Regions from separate parts of the Homo sapiens genome. Here regions 1, 2, 3, 4, 6 and 7 are each linked to region 5. The links are contacts of gene promoters, found by promoter capture Hi-C in blood cells and fetal thymus (Javierre and others, 2016). All regions are on one chromosome and are shown on one strand. Each heading gives the region's core, a stretch centred on a gene start or on the middle of the fragment in contact. The rest is flanking DNA. Distances are from core to core; before and after follow the strand shown.

Region 1 (3,649 bases), core at 18-2,517, 3.8 Mb before region 5:
AGTTTGCAGTTTCAACAGTAGATCATGTTACATTCCTATCCAAGACAATACATCTTTGCAAAGCTGGGTTTTCTGTGGCTGCTGTGATAAAAGCCAAATGCTGCGGAAATATTAATGTGAAACAGGAAATGAGAGTGGCAGTGTCCAACACGATCCCAAGGTTTGAAAAGTAGTATAGGCACACACATACGGTTAGTAATTATGACTTTAAAGGATGTAAAATATTTTTTCTCTCAGTTTATGTATATTATTTTTTCAAACAACTTCTAAGTAAATACTCAGTTGTTTGAACCTAACTACTAACTACTGAAACCTAAGGGAATTGTGAAAAAATTACTAACTACTGAAGCCTAAGGGAATTGTGAAAAAATTAACTCAGACACTAAGGGCTCCATGAAACCAAGTTTCAGAATCTTTGCCTTAACCAAGAAGTAACAAAACAGTGTAAGATTCACCAAGGAAAGCCATGTGACCTTGAAGAAATAAAACAAAGACAATAACACAAACATATCAACCAGGAAGAGGAATTTGGGTTGTTAAAACCATTTTTAAAGGTCACTCTTAGCTTAATCCTTCAAATCCCACACAATGCCTTCTGGATAATTTGCATTTTTAAAAAAACTTCTAAAACGCACGCACCCAAATTACTGTTTTCCCACTTCTTAGGGACTCAAGCAAAGCTTTTAAAATCACAGCCATCAATCTATGTTGGAAGAGACTGGGTCTCCCCTACACAGACAGAACACACCTTCGGGATCCGTGCCAGGGAGACAGGAGAAACTTGGAAGAAGACAGAGACTAAAAGATCCCCCGACTTTGAGACTTTCGGCTTTTTTGTGGTTTGTATCTTACCCTCAATAGCCTGCTTTTAAGTTCAATAACAATGCTCCTTGAGAAAAAAAGAAAAATAAAGAATGCTCCAGGTTATTGTGGAAATGCTTGTTGGGAAACTTCCTTTCCTCAGGGTTTTTCATATAAGCAAGGGAAAAAGTTAACACAACATCCAGAATAGTGGTTCCTTGGGTGGGAGGCGAGAAGTGAGTGGAAGGCAATGGAGAGGGGTACTCAGGGGCTCCAGGGGCCTGGCGATGTTCTAGTTCTTCAGCCGGGTGACTCGTACTTGGGTGTGATCTATTGTTATTCTTTACATTGCACTCTAAGGTTTATACTGTCTGAGTGTATGATGTATTTCACAGTGGCAGCACCAGCATCTCTATACAAGAAGGAGGCCTTGGGAGTTGGAAGTGTGCCTTGTCTCTAAGCTGAGTTGGATCGCAGGCAGTCTGCTTTTACATGGAGCATATGCTTATCTGGAAAGGCTTTGGGGAGGCTGATGAGTTTAAGTGGGAGACTAAGATTAATTTTTGGTGCCACCATGAAAAAACAAGGAGTTAATAAATTCACATTTTTAAAAATTACCATTGGTTTATACCTCCCAACACTGCGACTAGTTGTTTTCTGGTCTCTTTAATTCCTCTTCATCCCTCTTCTACCCTTCCCCCATGTCCAGTATGACCTAGAGGGCAGAAAATACTCCCCAATTTTAATTTGTATCCCTAATTTTTAAAAAATTTTTTGTTACCATATGCTAAACAAATACTAAAGATGACAAAGTGTAACATGTATCGGTATAGACACACCTACTACACTCAAGAACAAGGCTGCAGACCAGTACAGTGGCTCACACCTGTAATCCCAACACTTTGGGAGGCTGAGACAGGAGGAGTTCGAGACCAGCTTAGGCAACACAGTGAGACTCTGTCTCTAGTAAAATAAAAAAATTCAAAATTAGCCAGGTGTGGTGGTCCCAGGCTGAGGTGGGAAGATCGGTTGAGCTAAGGAGGTCAAAGCTTACAGCCTGGGCAACAGAGCGAAACTCTGTCTCAAAACAACAACAACAAAAACCCCGCCAAGGCTGCTATTGGTGTTTTGGGGATGAGAAACCCCCAATCAGTATACCATGGATGGGACCACCTTGGACCCAGGTGTGTTTGTCTTCATTGCCCAAGTTCTTTCCACTTACACTGGCCTAACAGAACCTAAGCATGAATGAATTCAACATCCAACAGGTTCGCAAAAGGTGTCTAACACACAAGAGTACAATGCCAAGCATTTCATTCCCATCACTTCACTGCATGAACACAATACTACGAGGTTATGTACAATACCTGCAGTTTAGAGTTCTAAAAACTAAGGTTTAAAGAAGTGGGTTTTCCAAAGTCACACACCTAACAAGTGGTGGAGTCAGAACTCCATCTCACGGGCCCGAAGTGGCTCTTTACTACCACGTGACCCATCTCATGCTACCTCGCGGGGGAAACATTCTTGACCAGCTTTGAGACATTCAAGTCCCTCTTGGGTCACAAATAATGCTGCACTTCCCCTCCAGTCCCCGAGATCTACCGGAAGCAACACACTTAAAAGCCCAAGATAAGCTTGGGTGAGCTGATGTCTGGACCCAAACCAGACAGCACGCCGACTCTCTGGACCCCGGGAGATGCCACTTGCTGAGGCTTCGCCGATGGGGCTCCTGAGGGGTATCGGCCCCTCTCCTGCGACTGCACCCTAGTGCTGTCGTCCAGGGCGGGGAGGGACGGGGTCATTCGGAGGCGGCCGCAGGCCAGGGACCTACCCTCCTACGCGCCGCAGACCGCGGGGTACTCGGACCCCCGCCCCCACCGCCCTTCCTTCAAACTGCAAGCGAGCAGGAGAACGAGGGACGAGCCCCAGAAGAAAGTTCTCCACCTCCCTCGCCCGAAGTTCCATATTCCAGGGAGGCAACTGATGCCAGGCGAAGAGGGAGGCGCCCCGGGGGGACCCCCTCGCGCCGGGCGTTTTCGGAGGCCGCAGGCCAGGGGGCGAGGCGCGGTGTCCGGGTCTCCTCCGCGGGCAGTCGGCGATCCTGGGGTGCCGAGGGAGCAGCGCCCCCTTCCCCCGACAGCGTCCTCCCCGACCTGAGGCGCCCACCCCGGTGTAAGCGGGGGTCCCAGGGAGCCGGCGAGGTCGCCTGGTACCTTTCTCTCCCGCGCCGGACGTCCGCGCCGCAGGGACCAAGGCCGGCGACACGGTGGGGGGCGAGGGGCGAAGACGGGGACTGGCTCCCGCTGGCTCCGGCGGCCCCAGGGCCTCGGCGCCGCCCAGCGCCGTGCCTCCAGCCGCCCGCGCGCCAGGCAGCGCTCTCGGCTCCTGCGGGTTACCTGTGGCCGAGCCCGCCGCGTCCGCCGCCGCAGGGCCCTCTGCCCCGTCCCGCCGGCCCCGCCCCACCCCTGCCGGCGGCTCCTACGCCGGTGCCGCAGCGCCTCCCAGCGGCGAGCCGGGGCACGGCAGGGACCCTCGCGAGAGAGAGGTGGCACCGCGGAGGCCCTGGGGCTGGCCCCGATCTGCAGCCCTCTCCTGGGTGGGGCCACCGCCTTCTGAAGAGTGGGAGGAAGGGGGCCTATAGTAGGGTGAGGTTTTCCGCGTGGGGGTTGCCAGGAAGTGTATTGGGAGGGGAGGAGAATTAGCAGGAGGAACCTCCCACCTTCACTCAATTCGTGGCCAAGTGGATATTTCAATATAACCATAGCTCACTTAACTGGGGCTGCTCAGTACAAACTGAACAACAATGATGAATGACCCAGATTTATTGGGGTAGCTGGAGAGGGGAAAG
Region 2 (3,611 bases), core at 953-3,452, 3.6 Mb before region 5:
AACTCCTAACCTCAGGTGATCCACCTGCCTTGGCCTCCCAAAGTGCTGGGATTACAGGTGTGAGCCACTGCACCTGACCTCTCTTTTCTATCTTAAAAGATGACCAATGAAGGCCAGGTGTGATGGCTCATGCCTGTAACCCCAGCACTTTGGGAGGCCGAGGTGGGTGAATCACTTGAGGTTAGGAGTTCAAGACCAGCCTGACCAATACGGTGAAACCCTGTCTCTACTAAAAATATGAAAATTAGCTGGGCGTGGTGGCGCACGCCTGTAATCCCAGCTACTCAGGAGGCTGAGGAAGGAGAATCACTTGAACCTGGGATGCGGAGGTTGCAGTGAGCCAAGATCGTGCCACTGCACTCCAGTCTGAGCAATTGAGTGAGACTCAGCCTCAAAAAAAAAAAAAAAAAAAAAAAAAAGAGATGATCAGTGAGAAAGCTAAGAAGGCAGATACTAGGAGAAGGTCTGGGGTCAAGTGCGCTGACTTCAGAACCAAGACCACGAAGCCTAACCTTAAGTCCCAGAAGGGTAATGAGCTGCAGAGCCTGCCTGCATATGCAGGCCCCTTCTAGTCAAAGGCAAGGGCAGAGATTTCTAATCCCCAGTGTTTTCTAGAGATGGACTAGTTTACCACCACCCTTGAAACCAAAGTTCAAAGATTCCTCCTACTGCCACAGTACCAATTTCCAGTGATAAGAAGGAAGATACCCTAATAGTTAAAATGATCACCCTTTGAAAACAGGGCCTGGTAAGGTGCTAAGAGGTGGGATACCCGGGTACAATCTAGAAGCACTGCTGTGATGGTTCTGCTATCATTCCCTCAGTACCGAGCTACTTCTGAGGAAAACACATGGTTTTGCTGAAGCAGCTGAGCACTGGCTCCTTGTGCCTGGACCATTAACTACTATAGTTACTACTATGGTTGAAATTTCTGGTATAAAAAATCCAAACCACTTCAATGATGTGTGCTCCTAGGTACTAAAAAGTGAGTTCTTCAACATAAAGAAAGACAAATAAAAGGTTTCAGCACCAGACAAATCGGAAAAGCACAGAATGAGAAGTTCCACAAAAACCATAGCTACTCATGTTCCATATTCTCTCTCAGGACATAATTTATCCTCTTTGCAAAGAACTCAAATTAAAGTAAATAAAATGGATAAGTGTGGTTTCTTCCCATAGCTAATAGAACGATCTCTCGCAAATCTATTCAGTTGCAAAGACAATTTCATATGAAAGGACAGATGTTTTCCAGACACCAGATTATTGACAGTTCAAAAGAGAACTTAATTGTCAACATGTTTGTTATTCCTATGGTTTCTAAGTGCTACTATTTTAATACTCCAATTATGAACACCATAATGAATCTCAATTAGAAGAGGCTTGCCAAATGTCACTCCATAGATCAAGACATCTTGTTATTGTCTTTCAATTTACTTCTTAAATATACAAATGTGGAGTTTTCGTCTCTGGTTTAGACATAAAAGTATTCTATAGCCTGTGTTCCCCTAAGAAGTTTATCTTCAACTTGATTACTCACTCATGTTCAGCCATATCTGGTAGATAAGCAGCATTCTCTTGTGATGGGTGGGCCATAAAAACAACATCAAGATTTGTAAAAGCCCCTGCTTCAATTAAATCAATTTTGCCACCACCATCTTCTTCTGCAGGGGTTCCCAGGACAACTACCTAGAAGGAAATACTCATGTCAGGGAAAAACAACAAAATCCTCATAGGAATATATCAAACAGGTTCACCTGCATATGTATTCACAATCTACATTAAAGTCCTTAACCTATTAAGACAGGTTTTGTTCTATGACGCTTACGCAATGGGCATCAACAAATGGTGCTAAATTAATCACAAAATGTACATTGTTATACCAACTTGGTGCAAAGTATGTACTAAAGACACTATAAAAAGCTTTTCCCAATTTTACAAGTCAACTAATGGCAAAGATAAAAAAAAATACTACAAGTTTAGTCCCTCAAAATTTGTTAGGATTTGTTTCAAAAAGGTTCCTCTCGACTAAGCCTTTCAGTGTATGTATGTATATAATTATTCTTAAGTACTTTACGAGTCAGAAACTTTCTGTTAACTTACTACTTATCCTCACAACAACCCTGTGAGGTAGGTGGGTGATCTCTATCATCATTTTACAGGGGGTGTTTTTGAGGAATTGAGTGAAGTGTCTTGCCCCAGGTCACAGAGCAAGTCTTCAGGCAGAATTAGGATTAGATGTCCTGATCTTCTGGCCTAAACTCTGATTCCTTACTGGGCTACCTATTTTAAAAGTCTGAACTCATTAATCCTTTATGAAGAACATTAAACAAGTCTTAATGCCACAGTTAGAAACAGCCAACTATTACACAAACTTACTAATTCGATTCCACCAGTTCAACCAGGCAGATTTATTGGTCACCAAACACCTAATTAAACAAAAGAGAACTTTACAGAATAAACATTTTACTTTGATATTTAAGCTTAACTGCTTCAAACAATTTTAAAAATCAAAATAAACAACTAATATATTTTCAAGATCATGTATAAGAACACAATGAAACAAGCTGGAAAAGTCTTGGCTTGCAAAGGAAATCAACTTAAATTCCATTTTCAGATAATTAATAACTTAACCTTGCTAAAATTGAGAACAACCATTTGAAGTTAGAAGAGTGGGCCGGGAGCGGTGACTCATGCCTGTAATCCTAGCACTGTGGGAGGCCGAGGTGGGCGAATCACCCGAGATCCGGAGTTCGATACCAGCCAGGCCAACATGGCGAAATCCTGTCTCTACTAAAAAATGCAAAAATTAGCTGGGCGTGGTGGCACACACCTGTAATCCCAGCTCAGGAGGCTGAAGCACGAGGATCGCCTGAACCCGGGAGGCGGAGGTTGTAGTGAGCCGAGATAGGACCACTGCACTCGGCCTGGGCGACAGAATGAGACTGTCTCAAAAAAAAAAAAAAAAAAAAAAGAGTGTACATTTCTCAAAGTTTAGCTTTTTTTTGGCGGTTCTACAGTGCTCAAACTCTGACATGAAGCCGCCGCTCTTTTTTTTTTTAAGAGGAGGCCTCGCTCTGTTGCCCAGGATGGAGTGCAGTGGCGCGATGTCGGCTCACTGCAACCTCTGCCTCCTGGGTTCAAGCGATTCTCCTGCCTCAGCCTCCCGAGTAGCTGGGATTACAGGCGTGAGCCACCACGCCCAGCTAATTTTTTTTTTTTTAATATATTTTAGTAGAGACAGAGGTTTCACCATGTTGGCCAGGCGGGTCTCGAACTCCAGACCTCAACTGATCTGCCCACCGCTCTTCATTCTTGACCCTTAACTCATTAAATACGATATGTCTCTCGCTGACTACTCAGAACCTTTAAAAACGTGGTTGAAGCGAAATCTCTCCAGTGTTTGTGACATGGCAAAGCATGCTTCCCCCAACCCAAACAAAAACCTAACAAATGCAAAAACGAGCCTCCAGAGACAGAAAAAAGAAGGCAGCTAAAGTGAAAAAGCCACAAAAGATGTAGTGTTAGGATAAAAGAGGAAGGTTACTGACACTGGGGGAAATGAACTAAAGAGTATGAAAATAAAACATTTGTTTTCCCCTTAACTGAATGAC
Region 3 (3,792 bases), core at 1,149-3,648, 3.8 Mb after region 5:
TTTCCAGATGCATCAGAGATACTTTTGGTGCGGGGCTGCTCTGCGGGGCGCGGTGCGCGGCTGGGGACTGTAAGGGCCGGGGGAGGGAGTCTCCGAGGAGGCCCGGGGTCAGGGAACTATCGGGGGAGGGGGCGCTCTTTTCCTGGCGGGCCTCTGCTCTCCGCCGCCGCGCGTGCTCTCCGCCGCCGCGCGTCCTCACCGCGCTCCTTTCCCTTTCTTTTTAGGACTGACCAGGGCCAAGTGGCGCTCGGCGGGCACTACATGGCGGAGGGTGAAGGGTACTTCGCCATGTCTGAGGACGAGCTGGCCTGCAGCCCCTACATCCCCCTAGGCGGCGACTTCGGCGGCGGCGACTTCGGCGGCGGCGACTTCGGCGGCGGCGACTTCGGCGGTGGCGGCAGCTTCGGTGGGCATTGCTTGGACTATTGCGAAAGCCCTACGGCGCACTGCAATGTGCTGAACTGGGAGCAAGTGCAGCGGCTGGACGGCATCCTGAGCGAGACCATTCCGATTCACGGGCGCGGCAACTTCCCCACGCTCGAGCTGCAGCCGAGCCTGATCGTGAAGGTGGTGCGGCGGCGCCTGGCCGAGAAGCGCATTGGCGTCCGCGACGTGCGCCTCAACGGCTCGGCAGCCAGCCATGTCCTGCACCAGGACAGCGGCCTGGGCTACAAGGACCTGGACCTCATCTTCTGCGCCGACCTGCGCGGGGAAGGGGAGTTTCAGACTGTGAAGGACGTCGTGCTGGACTGCCTGTTGGACTTCTTACCCGAGGGGGTGAACAAAGAGAAGATCACACCACTCACGCTCAAGGTAACACCACCCGAGATGCACTTGGGTCCTGACCCAGTCTGGGCCGGGTGTGACGGGGAGCGGGCAGAGGGGCATCGGTTAAATGCCATGAATCTGTGGCCATCACGAGTTTGGGCGCGCGTTATTTCTTTGATTTTTGATTTTTTAAACCAGTAAACTGACGTGCGTGGACGGTGTTGAGTGTTTCAGTTTACTTGATGCTTTGGCGCTACAACTCTTCTCCCAGGTCCTCCTCTGCCCTCTCTTCTCTTCTTTCTCCTTATGTTTTAACTCTTGGCTTTCCCTGTTGGAGTCTTGTCCAGAGTAGATTCTGATACTTGGCAGAATGAAATGATGTAAATAATTTTTGAGTCATTATATTTGAGTCTAGCCTTTGGGAAAATAACAGCCTGAAGCAGAAGTGAGTCAATGAGTTTTTTATTGTACTGGAAAAGGTGAATAGATTTCACAGCGGCATTCAGCTGACTACGTGTTAAAGGTCTATCTGGTGGTTCTTCGTGCTGGTTCATATGTTAAGGGTATAGTGGCACCCCCTCCCCACCCTCCACTTTAGTTCAAGACGGGTTTTATATGATTAGTTAAAATTGTCTGAGGAGGCAGGCTCCTGGAATGTCATAATTTAGTTTATATTTGATTGTAACTGCAGGGTGCCCCTGGAGGGACACACAAGATACTGATAACATTGATTGCCGCAGGCGGAGAGGAATTGGGTGGCTTGGAACAAGGGCGAGAGGCTGACTAACCTACCGCTGAATGCCCTTCCGAGTCTTTTGAATGTTGTTTGGATACTGTGTGAATATTGTGCCTATTAGACCGTTTTCAAAAAGTAACACTTAAAAAGTCAGACATGACAACAAAACCTCTTACTACTGTGCTACGTCTGCCAAAAGCCTCAAACTATTACCTCTAGTCCCTTTCCCAGACAGTAAAACTACTCGTTAAAAGTATTTTTTTTCTATTTTCAGAAGACCGTTTAAGCCTGTAGGTAGTGTTTGGCTGAAACTTGACAAAACAAAAGGGAAAGAGCAAAATAATTCTCAGCTGTGAAGAGGATGTATTTATTTATTGATTTATTATTTTCTAGGTTTGCTCATTTTGTTTTATCTTTTAAATTGTAGGAAGCTTATGTGCAGAAAATGGTTAAAGTGTGCAATGACTCTGACCGATGGAGTCTTATATCCCTGTCAAACAACAGTGGCAAAAATGTGGAACTGAAATTTGTGGATTCCCTCCGGAGGCAGTTTGAATTCAGTGTAGATTCTTTTCAAATCAAATTAGACTCTCTTCTGCTCTTTTATGAATGTTCAGAGAACCCAATGACTGAGACATTTCACCCCACAATAATCGGGGAGAGCGTCTATGGCGATTTCCAGGAAGCCTTTGATCACCTTTGTAACAAGATCATTGCCACCAGGAACCCAGAGGAAATCCGAGGGGGAGGCCTGCTTAAGTACTGCAACCTCTTGGTGAGGGGCTTTAGGCCCGCCTCTGATGAAATCAAGACCCTTCAAAGGTATATGTGTTCCAGGTTTTTCATCGACTTCTCAGACATTGGAGAGCAGCAGAGAAAACTGGAGTCCTATTTGCAGAACCACTTTGTGGGATTGGAAGACCGCAAGTATGAGTATCTCATGACCCTTCATGGAGTGGTAAATGAGAGCACAGTGTGCCTGATGGGACATGAAAGAAGACAGACTTTAAACCTTATCACCATGCTGGCTATCCGGGTGTTAGCTGACCAAAATGTCATTCCTAATGTGGCTAATGTCACTTGCTATTACCAGCCAGCCCCCTATGTAGCAGATGCCAACTTTAGCAATTACTACATTGCACAGGTTCAGCCAGTATTCACGTGCCAGCAACAGACCTACTCCACTTGGCTACCCTGCAATTAAGAATCATTTAAAAATGTCCTGTGGGGAAGCCATTTCAGACAAGACAGGAGAGAAAAAAAAAAAAAAGAAAAAAAAAAGAGTGATCCAGCCCTTATTAGGGATGTGTTTTGTGCAATGATGATATGCTCCTGGTTTTAAGTTTGGCAAAGCTTATGTATCTTTTAATAGATGTGGGAGCATGATCTCGAAAGGATCCTTTTCCCTTCTCTTATTCTCCTACCCAATTGGATTCTATCCTGCAAAAAAAGAGAGACCTGTCATTAGAAGCAACCAGGTTCTCCTGATACAAGAGAAGAAATGTGTGATGACAATATGGGTTTGCTGTATCTGCTCCCATAGCTTTGCCATAGGAAAAAAAAAAGTGGAAAGTTTCTTTTAAGATGGAATTCATAAAAGGGAAAATACGGAGGAAAAAAGGTCTCACTCCAACTTGTGAATCAGTTTAGGAGTTCAGATATTAATAGTAACAATACAGGAAAAAGGGGAACTCCAACGTTGGGATTACTGTCTGAGGCTTGTAGCAAGTGCTTTCTGTGGAATGATCTTGTTTTGCTAACAAACGGCTTGCTCCAAATGAACAGTAGTAGGTTGGTGCAGTTCTCGTAACAATCAGCAGAACTTATGATGACACAATCCATTAATTCCAGCTGCGTGCATAGATCACATTTTTAAAATGTAAAAATGCAAGCAAAAACAGCTGTAACAAAGAAAGTGTGCTCAAGGACCAAAGATTTAACAGATAAAAATACCCAATTAGAAGAGATATAGTAGACTATATGAAGAGAGATTATATTTGTTACACACCAATATACATCAAAGTGCCTGTTGCCTTCTGAAAATTTGAAGTGGCAAAATTATTTTATGGTTTAATGATTATTTTATTTTATCAGGGACTGCCTCAAGAAGAAAATAACATAAGCTTGTGAATGGTGGAGAAAATGCCCTATTTTTTCTTGCAAATACTTGTATAAAGTTAACATTTGTTGATCTGATATTATCATAGGTACATGTGTATGTGTGTATAAATTATATGTGTGTGTGTATATATACATTTTATATATACATTTTATATGTATATATACAC
Region 4 (3,765 bases), core at 1,194-3,693, 3.8 Mb before region 5:
TTCGCTTTCCCTCGGGCTTATGAGAATGGTTTAAATATAATAGATACTCAGTAAATATTTATTGATTGATACACAGCTTTGGGATCCCAAGTCAGGATCTGCCTCTACTCAGTCTAATAATGCCCTTTGGGGAGAAACATTTTTCATTACAGATTTCTCTTAATTGTAAGAAATCTTTAATTCTGAAAGGTTAAAAAAAAAGTTCAGTTCAGTCGTTCTTTAAATCTTTTGGGTCATAGGAACCTTTGAAAATATGGTCTATGCTCTGCAACCTTGCATCAGGAAAAATCTTCCTTCACAAGACTTTGCCTATAATTCCTAAAGATTTATAGCAATTTCTGAAGGCCAGCTGCAGACATCCCAGGGAAATCTCTGGTCCTTACGCTAAGACCATCCTCTACTGCCCCCTACTGGCTTGTCCTGGCCATGGGTCCCATGAAAAGATGGAGATTATTTCTACGTGACATTTATAAATATTTTTGTTCTCTTCTCCAGGGCTAATTGACTATAATTTTCATTGCTTCCGGAAGGCCATTCATGAAGTTTTTGAGGTGAGAATGAAAGTAGTAAAATCTCGAAAGGTTCAGAATCGGCTGCAGAAGAAAAAGAGAGCCACCCCTAATGGGACCCCTAGAGTGCTGCTGTAGGTGAGGTTTCAGGAATGTCTTTTGAAATCAGACCTTATCCATGAGGCTGCTGCGCCATGTTGCACTAAAGGAAGAGGAAGAAGGAGATTGGGACACATACCATTGATTTGTTGTTAAAAAAAAAAAATTCCTGCAACCCTCTTGATCTTCTCTTTTATAAATAAAGTAAGCACTTTGAAGCAAAAACTTGTATATTAACAGTGATGTGAAATCCATTGTCATTTCATTACACAAATGTAAACTTTTATGGTCTGTAGTCAAAAAAATCCCGTGTGAGAACTGCCAGGAATTGTACATATTTTGCACTTTTTCATGTTTCTCATTGAACTGAACTTTGATAAAACGACTTTTCTAAGCTTTTTTTCTGTACTTGGTGTCAAGGACATGCATACTGTAGTCCATATCTATATGGCAATCAGAAATTAATCAAAAAGTGATGCATTGGTAATGACTTTTTGTAAATTTGGAAATCTTTGCTACCAATTGTTGAGAAAAATCATTTTTCAGTGGAGCTGGAACAGATTGGAGCTACAAGCTCCAGGAGCAATAAGAACTGTCCCCTATTTATAATGGGTGTAAACAGTTTTGTAGAATAATGCTAGCACCAGACTTACCTAAAAATTTCTATAGCAGTGGCTGTGCTTCCCTGCTCAACGGTTTTTATGAAGCTGTTTACCTCAACACACATCTCTATAATCACTTTATACAGAGAGGTTATTTCTTTTTGTTGCATTAGTATTCTTTTGAAACTTTGGGACCAGATTTCCAAAATGGTGCCGAACACTGGAGAGAAGTAAGAATGTCACTGAATTGTAGGGTTTCTGGAGGCTTTTCTGTACCTACCACCCAGGGCTAAAGTAACATCAGAGGCCTAAAGTTGTTCCAAAAGTATGTGATTGGCAACTGCAGACTAAAAAACATAGATACAATTCTGGACTTTTGGCCCTGTGCGATGGTCTGGTGTGCTGCATTTAAAATGCTTATTCAGGACCAGTTCTTTATTGCTCCATGACCATAGTGAATAGAACAAATCGCAGAACCCCACCATGGAGCTCAATCCTGTTAGTCACTTTTGTCACCTCCACATCTCCTTCTCACTGGTGATAACATGCCTCATGTACTCCACTTGTTCCCACCTTATGATTAAGCCAAGCTCAGCCTGCCACCAGCATGCTCTGCAAGGCTGAAGAGTCATCCTGAAGACCCCTAAAGGTCAGTGGGAAAAGGATGGCTGGAGAGACATTACAATTAGCTGTGTAATTGTTTCTGTGAAATTATTTCACTTATGTTTACTTTAGACTAACAGGAAATTAAGAGTCCTAAATCTACCCCTATGCCAAATCATTCCAAGTAGATAATTTTACGTGCATCTCAAGGGTTAGCACCCTAAGGCATGCTTGTGGGGCATTAGAAAATGAGATTTTTTTTTTTTTAAAGCAGAGCCTCCTAAGAACATCAAAGTTGGTCCTAGCAAAATATATAAAGTCCCTAAAGCAACTTATACTTGAAACTTTTTTTTTTTTTTTTTTTAGAGGGGGGCCTCATTCTGTTGCTTGTGCTGGAATACATTGGTACAATCATAGCTCACTGTTACCTCTTGGGCTCAAGGGATCCTTCCACCTCAGCCTCCCTAGTAGCTAGAACTACAGGTGTGCACAACCACGCCCGGCTAATTCTTAAATTTTGTTTTTGTAGAGACAGGATCTCACTGTGTTGCCCAAGATGGTCTCAAACTCCTGGCCCCAAGCAATCCTCCTGCCTTGGCCTCCTCAAATGCTGAGATTACAGGCCTGAGCTACTGTGCCCAGCCTAAACTTTCCCACTTCTCTCTGTGGCTTCTTTCCAACCTCTCTCCTTCCTCTCCCCAAGTCCTGTTTCTTTGAAGCTGGTAACTGAATTTAAGATGATATCTGGTTGGTGTTTAAGGTTTGAGCCTCCCAAGGTTCTGTGCATTTTGAAAGGAGATTTCTAAAAATAATTAAGGTGCCCTAACTCCTTTCCTCATGATTCCTACTCCGAAACCTGGATGGTTAGGAGCCCAGGGCTCCCTGATTTCCAGAGCTATATCCTGTTGGACCTTTGCCAACAGACCTGACACTTAGGGGTTATTGTTATAAATCTAATTCTCTAATATTTTTTACATGTTGTTTCACTTTGAATAAGCAAATGAAGAATCAGTTTTCTAATATGACTTTATCCTCAAGCTAGAGACACTAGCCTATTTGGTAAATCACACATTACTTAGGTATATTTATTACTATAACCAGGTTGGAGCTTCCATGTTTAAGCTGGGTATATGATGGGTTTTTGTTAAAATGTGCCTTAAAAAGCCTATTACTTCAAGAGCAAATGATTCTTTGGGGGAAAGGCAAAAATAATTCTATGACATAGGGCCCAAGTTCATGGTAGTAAGTGTACTCTTTGATTAATCACACGCTAATATAGATTACTGCCTCTAACTTTGTAAGTGTGGCAATGACTTCTTAATTAAAGAAAGATGCAGGAGTTATGTCTAAGCGTTCAGTTTTTCAAATCTGTGTTATTGGAAATGTCTTCAAGTCATTTTGCATTGTATTTTTGATATGAGAGGCAGCTTATTGCGATGTGTATGGCCATGTTTCATTCTCAAATTTAATTCTATAAATACAAATCCTAAATACATGGCTACAGCAACTGCACTGGAACATTTTTGCTTGGTTTTAGGGATTGAGAACTTGCCTTGCAGGTTTCCTTCCTCAAAAGGAGCAGGGCAGTCCTTTCCCTGTTGAGTCAATTAGAATTTTTACATAGAGGTGAGACTGTGAATTATTTTGGTTATTTTCAGTGATGTAGATTAGTGTGAATGACCAGGGTGGAATGTTTTTGAAGGAATATAAAGCAAAAACTGGTTGACATTCACAAACTGTTCTTTTGTGAACATATTTTGGACCCTTAAATATGACTAAAATCACAGCAATATTGTTACATACGGGTTATATGCCAACTCTGTTTGAAATATACTCTGGAAAAACAGCTGAATTGTCTTGGTTATTAAAGTATGGTATGTATTCAACTTGTACAGACTGGATGTAATTTGTAATCAGGTATAGTCCATGTTTTACTTTAAGCAGTACATCAC
Region 5 (3,963 bases), core at 7-2,506:
AATAATTAGAAATGTGCATAGGTTTATCATCAAGGATGGTAATATCAATGGACTTTAGTGGTTAGCAATAATGGAACAGGATGGTACATTCTGATAAAGGATAATAATGCATCATTAAAGATCCATGTTTTTGTAATACGGGAAAATATTCATGAAACTACATACATCATTAAAAAACATTTGTTTCCCCACTTTGAAGGATAAGATCCTAGGAAAGAGAGATGACAGGCACAGGCTCTGTCTTTAGAACGTGTTCAAATTCCGGCTTTGTTAGTTTTATGATCCTAAGTTCCTTTCTGTCTCAGTAATTTGCCTGTATAATGATTGAAACTATAGTACTGTACCTACACCATGGGGTGAATGCATGAAGGTCAAATGAAAGTGCTTAGTGTCTGTACCGCCTAAGTAAATTTTCGCGATAATAGTCTTCCTGCATCTCTCACTGTAGCGGACAATACAGAAAAAAAAATTTAGAAATGTGATGAATTAGTAAAGGGAAAACCCCATGAGACTCTATAAGAGGGATTTTACCTAATCTGCCAACCTGCCTCTTCCAAGCACTCGGATTTTGGTTGGGCTCCCGGAGCCGGCGTGAATTGAGCTCTACCCTTGCCCGTGAGCGCGCAAAAGAGATTTTGTTGGTGGGGTGGCGGCCTGATGAGTTGTAGTCTTTATTCTAGGGCTGTTTTACTCGCCACCCCCCCAGCCCCCAACACACCCCTTTTAAAATACCGACTCAAAGGCGTCCTCCTATCCCCCTCTCCCTTAGGCGTCACGCAAAGCTCGGACCTGCTCCCACCCGGAGCCGAGTGTACGGTGAGGCGCGGAGCGTTGCGGGGTCGGGGAAGCGCTACCACCCGCTCCATCCCTCTGCGGGTTCGTGTCACGAAGACTACAGTTCCCAGCGGGCTCCACGAGCTCCGGTTGCCCCTCAGGCAGCGCCCGGCGGCTACGGGGGTGCTGTAGTTTCTTCCGGGCTCCCTACAACCTTCTTCCCTCTCCTCCGCAATACAGGCAGTTACTGGGTGCTGGGGCTGTCCTTTGATTTCCGGAAATGGCCGGTCGCCAGTGTTGTCAGAGTTTCCACGGAAGACTGCGCGCTACTCCGGCCAGGAGGGCGGAGCGGCGAGACGCTAGAGGCTTTGCGCTGGGTGACGACTTCGGGCACGTTCTACGGCCGTTCCTCTGGTCGGCTGGGGACCGCGGCCGCGCACGCGCGGCGGGGGGCGTGGGGCTGGGCCCAGCCGGACGCGACCTCAGCCTGCGGCGGCTAACTGCCGGTAGGCGTCTGTGTGCGCCGCCAAGTCGGTGGGGCGGGGACGCGAGGTGTGGATGGGGGGTCGCCTTGACCTCTGCCTCAGCCAGTAGCGCAGTCTCGGCCTCGCCGTTACGGAGATGGTGCCCTGGGTGCGGACGATGGGGCAGAAGCTGAAGCAGCGGCTGCGACTGGACGTGGGACGCGAGATCTGCCGCCAGTACCCGCTGTTCTGCTTCCTGCTGCTCTGTCTCAGCGCCGCCTCCCTGCTTCTTAACAGGTAACGCCGCAGCGCGGAGCCTGGGCGGCGGCTTTTCTCCGAAGGTGCAGACGCCCGGCCCGTGCTGCTTAACCGTGCGGAGGCCGCGTAGCTGCGGGACTGGGGACCAGTGGGGAGAGCGAGCTCCGCAGAGGAGCGGCCTCGGGGAGCACGGCGGAGCGTCGAGGCCGGAAGCACAGGCCGGTGGGGTGGGGTTGATTGCCTCCTTTCCCGAGGCTTCGTCTCCTGAGCTACCTTTTTCTCATCCATTTCTCAAAACGAGTTCTTCATCTTCGTTGCTTTTCAAAAGTGAAATCCGTGTGTCGGCTCAAATTGAGACTGTACACAGGCAGTCAAGTCAGCTGACGGAGGAGTGTTCAAGGTCCAGTTCGTAGCCGCAATTTTAGGCAGAATCCGCACACCTGCAGCGCGTTCTTCCATCTCCCCACCTCCCACCCCCTCAGCTTGCAGCTGAAGCTTTTCCCGCAGTATTGTTGAATAAAACAGACGATCATAAAGATTTGTTGGACAGAAATCAGAAAGCAAAGTGGTACCCGTCCCAACATCCTTAGAATTTTTTATTTTTGAGACGGAGTCTCGCTCTGTCACCCAGGCTGGAGTGCAGTGGTGCGGTCTCGGCTCACCGCAAGCTCCTCCTCCCGGGTTCACGCCATTCTCCTGCCTCAGCCTCCCGAGTAGCTGGGGCTACAGGCGCCCGCCACCACGCCACCACGCTACCACGCTAATTTTTTTGTATTTTTTTTTTTTTTTTTTAGTAGAGACGGGGTTTCACCGTTTTAGCCAGGATGGTCTCGATCTCCTGACCTCGTGAGCCGCCTGCCTCGGCCTCCCGAAGTGCTGGGATTACAGGCGTGAGCCACCGCACCCGGCCACATCCCTATAATATTCTTAAGAGGACTTGATGCCACCCTCCCCAAAAAAACCTGAAATATTCCGAAAGGTTAAAATTGATAAATTCAATTGACATTTTGAAATCAGAAGATTCTGCCCCCGAAATAAACTTGTTTTACTTCATTTTACTATTTCAAGAAATTGTTGCGATGCAATAGGTAGTAGAGGAGACTTTTCCATTAAAATTAACACCAGATTTGCTTTTGGTGGAAAGAAATCTGAGATAGTTCTCATTGACAGCATCCGCAAGCTGTTTTCTCTGATGTTTTGAACAGGCAACCATTCTTACTCTTTATCTTAAGGTAGTTGATTCCCAAGGATAGCAACAGGGAGGAATGCGCAAGGAATTTGGTAACTTCATTTTTCTCTGGTGTAACCATTATTTGTGACTATGTTGAAGTTAGATTTCTTCCCTAAAAGTGGCCTTGCTTTCTTGTTGATTCTTGGTTTAAATATTATTGAGCTTAAATAGTAGTTGATGTTTTACTGAGAAGTGTGCTCTGTGATGGTGAGATGTTTGAACTGTAGGAGTGTGGGAGAAGTGGGATCCTTAACAGAGGGAACACTAATTATTATTTGCTTTCTGTCATCTGGAAGGTATTCCAAGCTAGACTAACAGGTTTAGTATGAAAGAAATGTAAGCTTCATATGATTTTTATTTTTATTTTTATTTTTGAGACGGAGTCTCACTCTCTTGCCCAGGCTGGAGTGCAGTGATGCGGTCTCGGCTCACTGCAACAGCCACCTTCCAGGTTCAAGTGATTCTCATGCCTCAGCCTGCAGAATAGCTGGGACTACAGGTGGGCACCACCATGCCCGGCTACTTTTTTTACATTTTTAATAGAGACGGGGGTTTCACCATGTTGGCCAGGCTGGTCTCGAACTCCTGATCTCAAGTGATCCACCTACCTCAGCCTCCCAAAGTGCTGGGATTACAGGCGTGAGCGACTGCACGCAGCCCATATGATTAACTTTTGTCCATGGATTCTTACCTACCTCTTTTGGGAACTGGGTCAGTTTAGGTTTCTAAGGTAGGAGAGCCATCTAGTAGGAGCAGGTTAAACTAGATTTCTGAGGTCATCTACTTATGGTCATAACATTTAGTGTTGTGTGTTATTAAAAAGTCATAGGATGCCATCTGATCTGTATACCATCTAACCTGTACCCTGTATTTCTTTTATGCAGAGAAGGTAGGAAATACAGGTAAATGTTACCTGAGTGGTTGGGTTTATGAGTGAAGCTGTTTTTGCATATGTTTTGGTGTTTTCCATTTGTTACTGCTGTAGTCAGCAAAAGTGATTTTAAACACTAGAACTGTCTTGAATAAAACCATGATTATGTATCCCTTTTCCAGGAAAAATCTTTTGGAAGGTGCCAGATGGTGTATGTAGCATGCTTTTCAGTGTATATGTGTGATTAAAAAAAAAAAAACTTATGTGTGTATTCACGTACACACACACACACACAGATGATAAGAGTATCTCTGAAATGTTGTTATACAAGAAAACATGGGCCCTTCTGAGATGGGGTATACTAG
Region 6 (3,983 bases), core at 574-3,073, 3.8 Mb before region 5:
TCAGTAGGAATTAGCAAGACTAGCATCCTTGTGGAAAGAGTTGACACTGTGAATCTTTGGGTTTTTTGTAAGGTTTCAGAATATGCAAAAACCCCAGAAAAGCCTGAGGATATTGATTGGAGGGAGCTTTGTTAGCCTGAGTGCTGTCAGGCTAAGAAATGTCCTTAGGTGACCAAGTGTGTAGAACTGGTCATAATATTTTAGGAGCCACTGACTCCTTAAAAAAATCTGATGAAGACCTGGCACGGTGGCACACGCTTGTAATCCCAGCACTTTGGGAGGCTTGAGCCCAGGAGGTGGAGAGCAGCCTGGCCAACATGGTGAAACCCCGTCTCTACTAAAAACACAAAAATCAGCCGGGCATGGTGGTGGCGCACTCCTGTAGTTCCAGCCACTCGGGAGGCTGAGGCAGGAGGATGGCTTGACCCGGGGAGGAGGTTGCAGTGAGCCGAGATCGCGCCACTGCACTCCAGTGTGGGCGACAGAGCGAGACTCCATCTCAAAAAAAAAAAAAAAAAAAAAAAAAAAAAAGAGAATCCCGGGGTGGGGAGGGAGGAAGAAAAGACCAAAGAGAAAGAGGGAAAGAAAAGCTTAATTTTTAAGCTAGATGGTAAAATGATTGAATTATTTACATTGTGGTATATTTAACTGGAGCTGTTTGGGTAAAAATGTATGGTGGCTCCCTGGTCACACGGTTCCTTAGGACAGCAGAGGTGCTTAGTGAAAGGTCCAGAGGATAATGCACATGTGAGTAGTAGTGCAGTTTAGAATGGAGAACTGGTGGAACCCAAGAGATTGTTGTCAGAAAACATCGCTCAATTTCGATAGGTTAGACTTAATACTATGATGATAAGCTTTTAAAAATCTCCAGAATTTTGTATATTTCCAAAGTATGTGAACTATTGTCAGCTGGTTGAGCTTTGGTTGACATGCTTCTAGCTGTGTCATAAATTGCTTCCTTTTTCTGGTTTCATTTCCTCAAAGATAGTGTTGCTGCTCTAAAAAAAAAAACACAATGCTTCTTAAAAATCTATTTTTGTTAGTGTGTGAATTATTTGGAGTTCATGGAGAAGTTGAATTAGGTAAGATATGGGACTTACTGAAAATGCTGGGAGGCATTGTGAAAATACTTCCTTCCTTTGCTTTATTCTCAGTCCTGTGGTATTTTTAGAGTAATGCCTGTGTGAAGGGGAGCAACTGAAAACTCCAATTTCCTGTGTATGGCAGGGTGCACACACACACACACGTAAAATACCAACATACCAGACAAACAAAAAACAACCACACAATGTGAGGGATATAATCTTTTACTCTTTATCTGATGTGGGATTGTCTTTGATGTATGAGTGGAAAGATTAAGTGAAGACAATACAGATAGCTGGTTAAGGGCCAGTGTACTAGCATGTGGATATAGTAAATTTTTTCATTTCATAGGTGGGGAAACTTTTTGCTTTATGGTTTTTTTTTGGAATGGACTTGTGATTATGGATAGAGCTGTTGTGTAGGATCACCTCACAGTAGTTGTCTGTGGTAGTTGTCAGTAGTTGTCTATGGATCTGCTACTGTAGTAGCAGTAGTTGTCTATGGATCATGCTACTTGTCTATAATCTGTCAATAGTTGTCTATGGATCAAGCTACTTGACCCGTGTTTGGGTCTGCTCTGGCCAAGGAAGTAGGGTCTTATAGTACAAAGTGAAGAAATGTGTATAAAGCACCTCCTTTGGCAGCTTCTTCATCAGGGGGCCATTGACATGTGCAGCAGGTGGTGGGAGTATAAGAGACTGGTGCAAAAGTACCCACTGCCTCCACCAGAAGTCTAAGAGTTACCTATCCATGCCATTGGTGTCAACTGCACCTTCCCACTAATCCACTCAAGGTTTCATGTCCAACTCAGGCCCTTCTCGTAAGCTATAGATACACAGAACTTATGGTGACTCAACATCTTCATTTCCCATAGAGTGAAAAAAATCTCTGTAAGTATAAAGACAAAACTCATCAGTTTTCTTCTCCTCCCCTAAACTTGCAGTTTACCCTAGTATTTCATATCTCAGGGATAGACAGCACTCAGGCACCTATGGGAGTCATTTTTTATTTCTTGGTCGCTTCCTTGCTCCATCCCTGCCCTGAAACACACAACTCAATACACACACAGAAACACATATATCTAATCAGTCACTGTTGTCACCAGATCAATCAAAACAAAAACTGATTACCCCCAAATTGAAAAATTTTCAGTAGCTTTCTGATAGCTGTCAATAAAGTTCAAAGTAAACTGCTTAGCTTGGCCTACAGGGCTGCTCATGATTGACCCTGCCCTTCCTCACCAGCCTCACTGTCCACCACTCTTATGCTCTTCCTCATTTTCTTTTTTTTTGAGGCAGGGTCTCCCAGCCTGGAGTGCAGTGGTGCCATCACAGCTCACTACAGCCTCAACCTCCTGGGCTGAAGTGATTCTTCCACCTCTGCCTCCCGAGTAGCAGGGACCACAGGTGTGTGCCACCACACCCAGCTAATTTGTGTATTTTTTGTAGAGACGAGGGTTTCACCATGTTGCCCAGGCTGGTCTCAAACGCCTGAGCTCAAGTGTTCCCTCCACCTTGGCTTCCCAAAGTGGTGAGATTACAGGTGAGAGCCACTGCACCAGGCCTGCGTTTTTACCTATCCATTTTGCCTGAATGACTCTCTAGCTGGAGTAGCTTTTCTCACTTAGGTGCTTTGGTTCCTGTTGGAACCTCTGCTTAGAATGCCTTCCTTTAAATCCATCTGAAATTCCTATAGTTCTTCAAGCTTTAAGGTTCAGCCTTGTCTAGCTCCCCTAGGCAGACTAAAGTAGTTCCTATATATACTTGTACATATATACTTGGTCAATATTACCACTTGGTTGTAATTATTTTCATGTCTTTCTCTACTGACTGTTACGGAAGACAAGAAGCAGGTCTTGGTCATTGTTTTATCTCCAACACTCAGACATTCTTTAAATGTTTGTTGAACTGATACATTTGCAGGGTCCTCCTGGGCAGAAACATCACTCTGTAGGCATTTGCTTAAGTACCTTCATTATGGGAGCAGGAAGAGGCAGTTAGGGAGCATGCCTTCCTTAATATACCTGTCTCCTGCATTTCACTCATGCTTTGGGAATTGATAATATCAAGATAATTGCTTTTGAAGAGGAATCCATATATGGGAAGCAGTGGCCTGTAGAAGATCCCTTTATTTTTAGCTGTATACAAACCCCAATGTGAGGCTAGTGAGCTAGCCAAGGTGTGTGAAGAATGCTAATGCCTAGGCCCACAGCACCTAGAGCATGGCTCCAGAGTGTCCATGTGGCCTCTATAAGAAAGAAGAACAAGAGCAGGCATCCAGGTGCCACCCCTTCCTTTCCTGGCACATCTTATCTCACCACAGTGAAAGGATTCCATGGAAAAACCTTTCCAAGAGATAGGAGAGGAGCTGGAATAAAAGTTTCCTCTCTAGCCATGTAGAAGCAAGAGATGGAGTATCAGGAGGGGCAGACTATGCTGTAGCCCGGTTGCCAGGCAGCACTGTGAACCATGACTGTTTCCTAACAGTGGTATTTCTCCTCAGGAGCCAGGGAGCCATATCATAAGGCCAGCGAAATCTGCTGAGGCATGGTTTTGAGTTAGGAAGAATCATTGAGAAGGCCTTATATACCAGTCCATTTTCAACCTTAATGACTCAGGGACTGGGCAGGAAGGAGGGGTGAAAAGGAAAGGAGAATTTTGTGGAGAAATTATTGACTCTTATTTGACAGATGTAAACATCAGATCAAGTGACTTGTTCAAGGACTTAGAGCTACAAAATGTCAGAGTCAGAATTTTAATGCAGCTCTAAATCGAGTCCCTGTTTCTTTTCACTGAAGCATTCATAATATATGTTATTTTTGCAAAAAAAATAGCTTATGGAAACAAGAGACTAATCTCACCTTTTGGCTACATGACCTTAGCTCTTACATGGTATGTGCC
Region 7 (3,442 bases), core at 362-2,861, 3.8 Mb before region 5:
TGGCAGCAGCAGCTTCCTCATCAGTTACAGCTCCTGTTTTGTGGCCCCTCTCCAGGACTCTAGCTCCCTTCCTCACTCCTGTAAATTTAGGGGTGGTGTTATCTTCCCACTATCGCTAATACCTGCATTGATTCCCTAAACTCTGTCCACACCCCTGTAAATTGTTCCTTCACTTGAAGGCTTCAGTTAAAGTCTTTGCACATACCGTCTGTTTCATCCTGGGAAGAACCTTAACTGATACAGTCATACCAAATTATACTGCCTGCCTCCCTTGGAAAATCTCAGGACCTTTCCCATTAGAAGCAGCCACCTTCTGGAAAGTGTCTGCATCCACCTTCTGCACTCAGAAATACTAAAAAAAATCCAGGACATGAGTCATGATTTGGTAGACTGTGAGCTCCTTCAGGGCAGGAACACTGCCCTGAGCATTCTTGGACCCTCTACTTAGCCCAGCCTCAGGCATATAGGAGGTGGTTAATAAATGTTTCCTATGGAGGTTAGCACCCTTGGGCCCTGAGAGTCTCCTGCCCTAGCTTCCTCCCTCCGCTTCTGCACCGCACCACCGGCTGAGCTGCTGGCACCTGTAGGAGCTGGATCATCATGCTGACCGGCCGGTTTTTTCTTATTGTGCTCCACAGAAGGAAGTTCATCCACGTAATTTTTTGCAGTACCCAGAAAGGGTGGGTACAGTGTGTTCCGTGGTGAAAAGCTTGTGAAGGAGGAATGCAGGTTTTAGAGTCTCACTCCACGTTGCTGCTATTCCTATTTGAGAATTGCCCCCCCACCACCGCCACTCCCCTACTCCCACAAAAGCCTTGAAATATTTTATTCATGTGGGATTACAGTCTATGCAACAATGAGACATGAGGAGGTGGCCATGAATAGCCCCCGAGTGTGTTATACACTGAGACCTTTTCCAAAGGGCTGCAGAGGAATTATTTAGTCTAAGCAGCCACGAGTCATGTGATTTCTTCAGAAACATTTACGTCTGGGTAGGCCTGCTTTTTAAATATTCTTGGTGGGAAGCACTTTGAACCATAAAGGCACACTAAAAGACAATTGCTATGGAGACTGCGCCTCCACTGTGCATTTATCTGAGTTCTCCGCCTGGGGCTCTTGAGCGTCCACAGGGTGTCCTGGGCACGCTGCTCTGGGGTGGGGGATCTGGGCGCCACAGTGTTGGGAGGCCACCCGCTTGGGACCCTAGCTCAGGACTGTAAGCAGGAGGCATCCGCCCACGGTAGACGCTCTGCGGGCGTGTGGGAGTGGGACGGCGGGGGGGACATTGAGGGTGTGCGGCGCCCCCTCCCCTGCCTGTGCGGGGACCACGTGAAGGAGAGGCGCGTGGGGGCCCCTGGCGCGCAGCCGCGGTGGGTGACGGCCGGCGTCCCGGGGGCCCCGTGTACGGGGCGTGTGTCGGTGTGAGTCTGGGAGGGTGCAGGGGCCCCGCGCCTCCCCGGTCTCCTCGTGCGTGTGCGTGTGCGTGTGCATGTGTGTCCTCGGCCCAGCGCCCCGCCGAGTGGTGCCCGCGGCCGGGCGAGCGCGCGCGCGCCCGTGCGGGGTGTGTATGTGAGTATGTGACAGTGTGTGTCAGGTGACTCGGGTCACGCAGTCTCTCTCTCTCTCCCTCCTCCGGGAGGAACTGCCGCGCTCCGGCTGACTCCTCCGCCGGCGGGCGGGGCGGGGGAGGGGGCTTCGGGCGCGCTGGGAACCGCGGGACCCGGACCTGGGCGCCGCCCGCCGGGGGACGCGCGGCCCCCGCTTCCGCCGGGCCCCGCTGAGCTCTAGACAAACCTCCGCTTCAGAAATAGGCTGCGGGCGGCCGGCTAGGAGGCTTGGCCCCCACCCCGGGACCCCCGCCGTCCCCGGGCCGGCCGGCCGGTGGGCACGATGAGCCAGGTGCTGGGGAAGCCGCAGCCGCAGGACGAGGACGACGCGGAGGAGGAGGAGGAGGAGGATGAGCTGGTGGGGCTAGCGGACTACGGAGACGGGCCCGACTCCTCCGACGCCGATCCGGACAGCGGCACAGAGGAGGGAGGTGAGCGCCCGGCCCCCGCGTCCTCGGCTCGCGCCCCTTTCCTCCCCTTGGCGCCTTCCCGCCCCCAGCCCGGCCGTGCGCGAGCCACCGACTTGGAGGGGGTCCAGGGGAGCGGGTCCAGTTGAGGGTTTGGGGTGGGGAGGGACGCCAAAAGCCCGACCTCGAGCTGCCAAATGAGGGAGCGCGGTGCTGGTGGCGGAGGGGCAACCAGGATCGGTGGAAAAGGGGAAGGAGGGAGTAAGCGTCTGGGCTGGAGGAGCGCGCGCTTCTGCCCCTTTCAGAGCCGGTGCCTCCCGCGCCCCTCACCCCAAGCTCTCCGCAGCGTCTGGCGGTTGGGGAGGGGAGGGGACCGCGGGCGCGCCCTGGGACCTCTCTCCCAGAACGGTGCTGTTGAAGCCAGGGTCAGATGTCGTGGCTAAAAAAAGGCAGCCGGCGGCGGCGTGACTGGCAGGGTCGTCGGCAGCTGCGGGTGTCAGTCTCGCCCCGCGTCGCCGCGGGAGGGGCCCACCCAGGTAGTGGCTGGGGAGACCCGCGGGGCGGCGGGGGGATGCTCGCCAAGCTGTTGTGGGAGTCTCCGAGAGGCCGCAGATTTCCCGGGATCCACGCAAACACCGTTGTCAGGACACCTTATCTGCTCTCGGTATCACCACCTGGACATGGCAGTGCCTGCCCGGGAGTGAGCGCGCGGCGGGGAATTCTTTGCTTCAATAGTGAAGCAAACTCTTTTTCCTGTTCTAGAAGCGGGTTTTAGCAATCGTTCAGCTTGTGGGGGCTTCCTGCATTTTCTTAAGGTGTAAGGAAGTTGAGAGCCTTTTAGTATTCCAGAGAGGTTAAACTTTTTTTAGTTTCCCTCAGAAGCGAGCAAAAGTTCCTTTACTGTAAGGTCACTTGGAAAGGTCAATAGAAAGCGGCTGTTAAACATGATGTTATTCTCAGTGAAACTGTATGCATCCAAGAGAAGGAACTAACTTTAATGTTTCACACTGAAGAAATTGTGTGAGAGATACAAGTACCTTTGTGACTATTGATTTTTAAAGAACTTTTATTGAGAATTCACTGAACTTATTTTAAATTCTCTATGCAAAGCTTTTCTCACTAGGGTAGTTTCATTATTCTACATCTGGCAGGCACGACTTTCAATGAATCAGAAAGGAAATAAAGTTAACTATGCCTTGCGCCTGGTAGATGAGAAAGCAGCCTCTCAAGTCACCCTTTTTCATAGCGTTTTCTCTCTTGGGATGATTTGTGCTAATTCCTCATTTGCTTAAACTGATGTGTGCACCTTTGTGCTTTCTGTCTTCTGCACTCCCGGTAATTGGTCTTACCGTTGAGCACCAGGCCACATTTTTGTAGATAAAGGCTTTCAGCCGTTTTATTGGAGTCTCTAGAGCTACCTTCCGTAAT

The links. Contacts are between HindIII fragments. The CHiCAGO score rates a contact against its expected background, and 5 or more counts as called.
Region 1: a contact is called between a fragment that was not itself captured here and the fragment with the promoter of SNX14 in region 5, in 1 of 17 cell types (total CD8 T cells). The highest score is 5.1, in total CD8 T cells.
Region 2: a contact is called between a fragment that was not itself captured here and the fragment with the promoter of SNX14 in region 5, in 2 of 17 cell types (non-activated CD4 T cells and naive B cells). The highest score is 11.1, in non-activated CD4 T cells.
Region 3: a contact is called between a fragment that was not itself captured here and the fragment with the promoter of SNX14 in region 5, in 1 of 17 cell types (monocytes). The highest score is 5.6, in monocytes.
Region 4: a contact is called between a fragment that was not itself captured here and the fragment with the promoter of SNX14 in region 5, in 3 of 17 cell types (non-activated CD4 T cells, total B cells and monocytes). The highest score is 8.2, in non-activated CD4 T cells.
Region 6: a fragment that was not itself captured here is called in contact with the fragment with the promoter of SNX14 in region 5 in 3 of 17 cell types (M0 macrophages, non-activated CD4 T cells and monocytes); the score reaches 17.5 in M0 macrophages.
Region 7: a contact is called between the fragment with the promoter of RRAGD here and the fragment with the promoter of SNX14 in region 5, in 4 of 17 cell types (M0 macrophages, non-activated CD4 T cells, erythroblasts and 1 more). The highest score is 9.6, in M0 macrophages.

The regions. Positions count from the first base shown.
Region 1 is chr6:89,432,741-89,436,389 of GRCh38, reverse strand. ANKRD6 (ankyrin repeat domain 6) reads right to left here and starts at 3,238. Exons shown (of 16, transcript NM_001242809.2): 1 at 3,015-3,238. LOC124901360 (a long non-coding RNA gene) reads left to right here. Exons shown (of 2, transcript XR_007059675.1): 1 at 1-2,973. RefSeq lists a silencer at 2,967-3,446. The HindIII fragment of the contact is 1,170 bases long and covers 683-1,852 here.
Region 2 is chr6:89,147,340-89,150,950 of GRCh38, reverse strand. PM20D2 (peptidase M20 domain containing 2) reads right to left here. Exons shown (of 7, transcript NM_001010853.3): 2 at 1,538-1,686. Among named protein-coding and RNA genes, the nearest start is that of PM20D2, 3.1 kb to the right of the region's middle. The HindIII fragment of the contact is 560 bases long and covers 1,923-2,482 here.
Region 3 is chr6:81,748,611-81,752,402 of GRCh38, reverse strand. It overlaps TENT5A (terminal nucleotidyltransferase 5A), which reads left to right. Exons shown (of 3, transcript NM_017633.3): 2 at 225-813; 3 at 1,932-3,792. The coding sequence starts at 262. The coding sequence ends at 2,708. Among named protein-coding and RNA genes, the nearest start is that of TENT5A, 2.2 kb to the left of the region's middle. RefSeq lists an enhancer at 1-61. The HindIII fragment of the contact is 922 bases long and covers 1,938-2,859 here.
Region 4 is chr6:89,364,938-89,368,702 of GRCh38, reverse strand. RRAGD (Ras related GTP binding D) reads left to right here. Exons shown (of 7, transcript NM_021244.5): 7 at 496-3,765. The coding sequence ends at 647. Among named protein-coding and RNA genes, the nearest start is that of UBE2J1, 14 kb to the right of the region's middle. RefSeq lists an enhancer at 437-666. The HindIII fragment of the contact is 2,876 bases long and covers 1,006-3,765 here.
Region 5 is chr6:85,591,151-85,595,113 of GRCh38, reverse strand. It overlaps SNX14 (sorting nexin 14), which reads left to right and starts at 1,256. Exons shown (of 29, transcript NM_153816.6): 1 at 1,256-1,535. The coding sequence starts at 1,396. RefSeq lists enhancers at 964-1,083, 1,394-1,563, 1,012-1,595, 1,596-2,179, 2,180-2,765 and a silencer at 1,114-1,333. The HindIII fragment of the contact is 2,215 bases long and covers 1-1,993 here.
Region 6 is chr6:89,347,618-89,351,600 of GRCh38, reverse strand. All of the region lies in intron 1 of UBE2J1 (ubiquitin conjugating enzyme E2 J1), which reads left to right. Among named protein-coding and RNA genes, the nearest start is that of UBE2J1, 3.1 kb to the left of the region's middle. The HindIII fragment of the contact is 1,933 bases long and covers 857-2,789 here.
Region 7 is chr6:89,410,442-89,413,883 of GRCh38, reverse strand. It overlaps RRAGD (Ras related GTP binding D), which reads left to right and starts at 1,611. Exons shown (of 7, transcript NM_021244.5): 1 at 1,611-2,038. The coding sequence starts at 1,891. RefSeq lists silencers at 1,195-2,384, 2,415-2,524, 2,555-2,654. The HindIII fragment of the contact is 2,415 bases long and covers 712-3,126 here.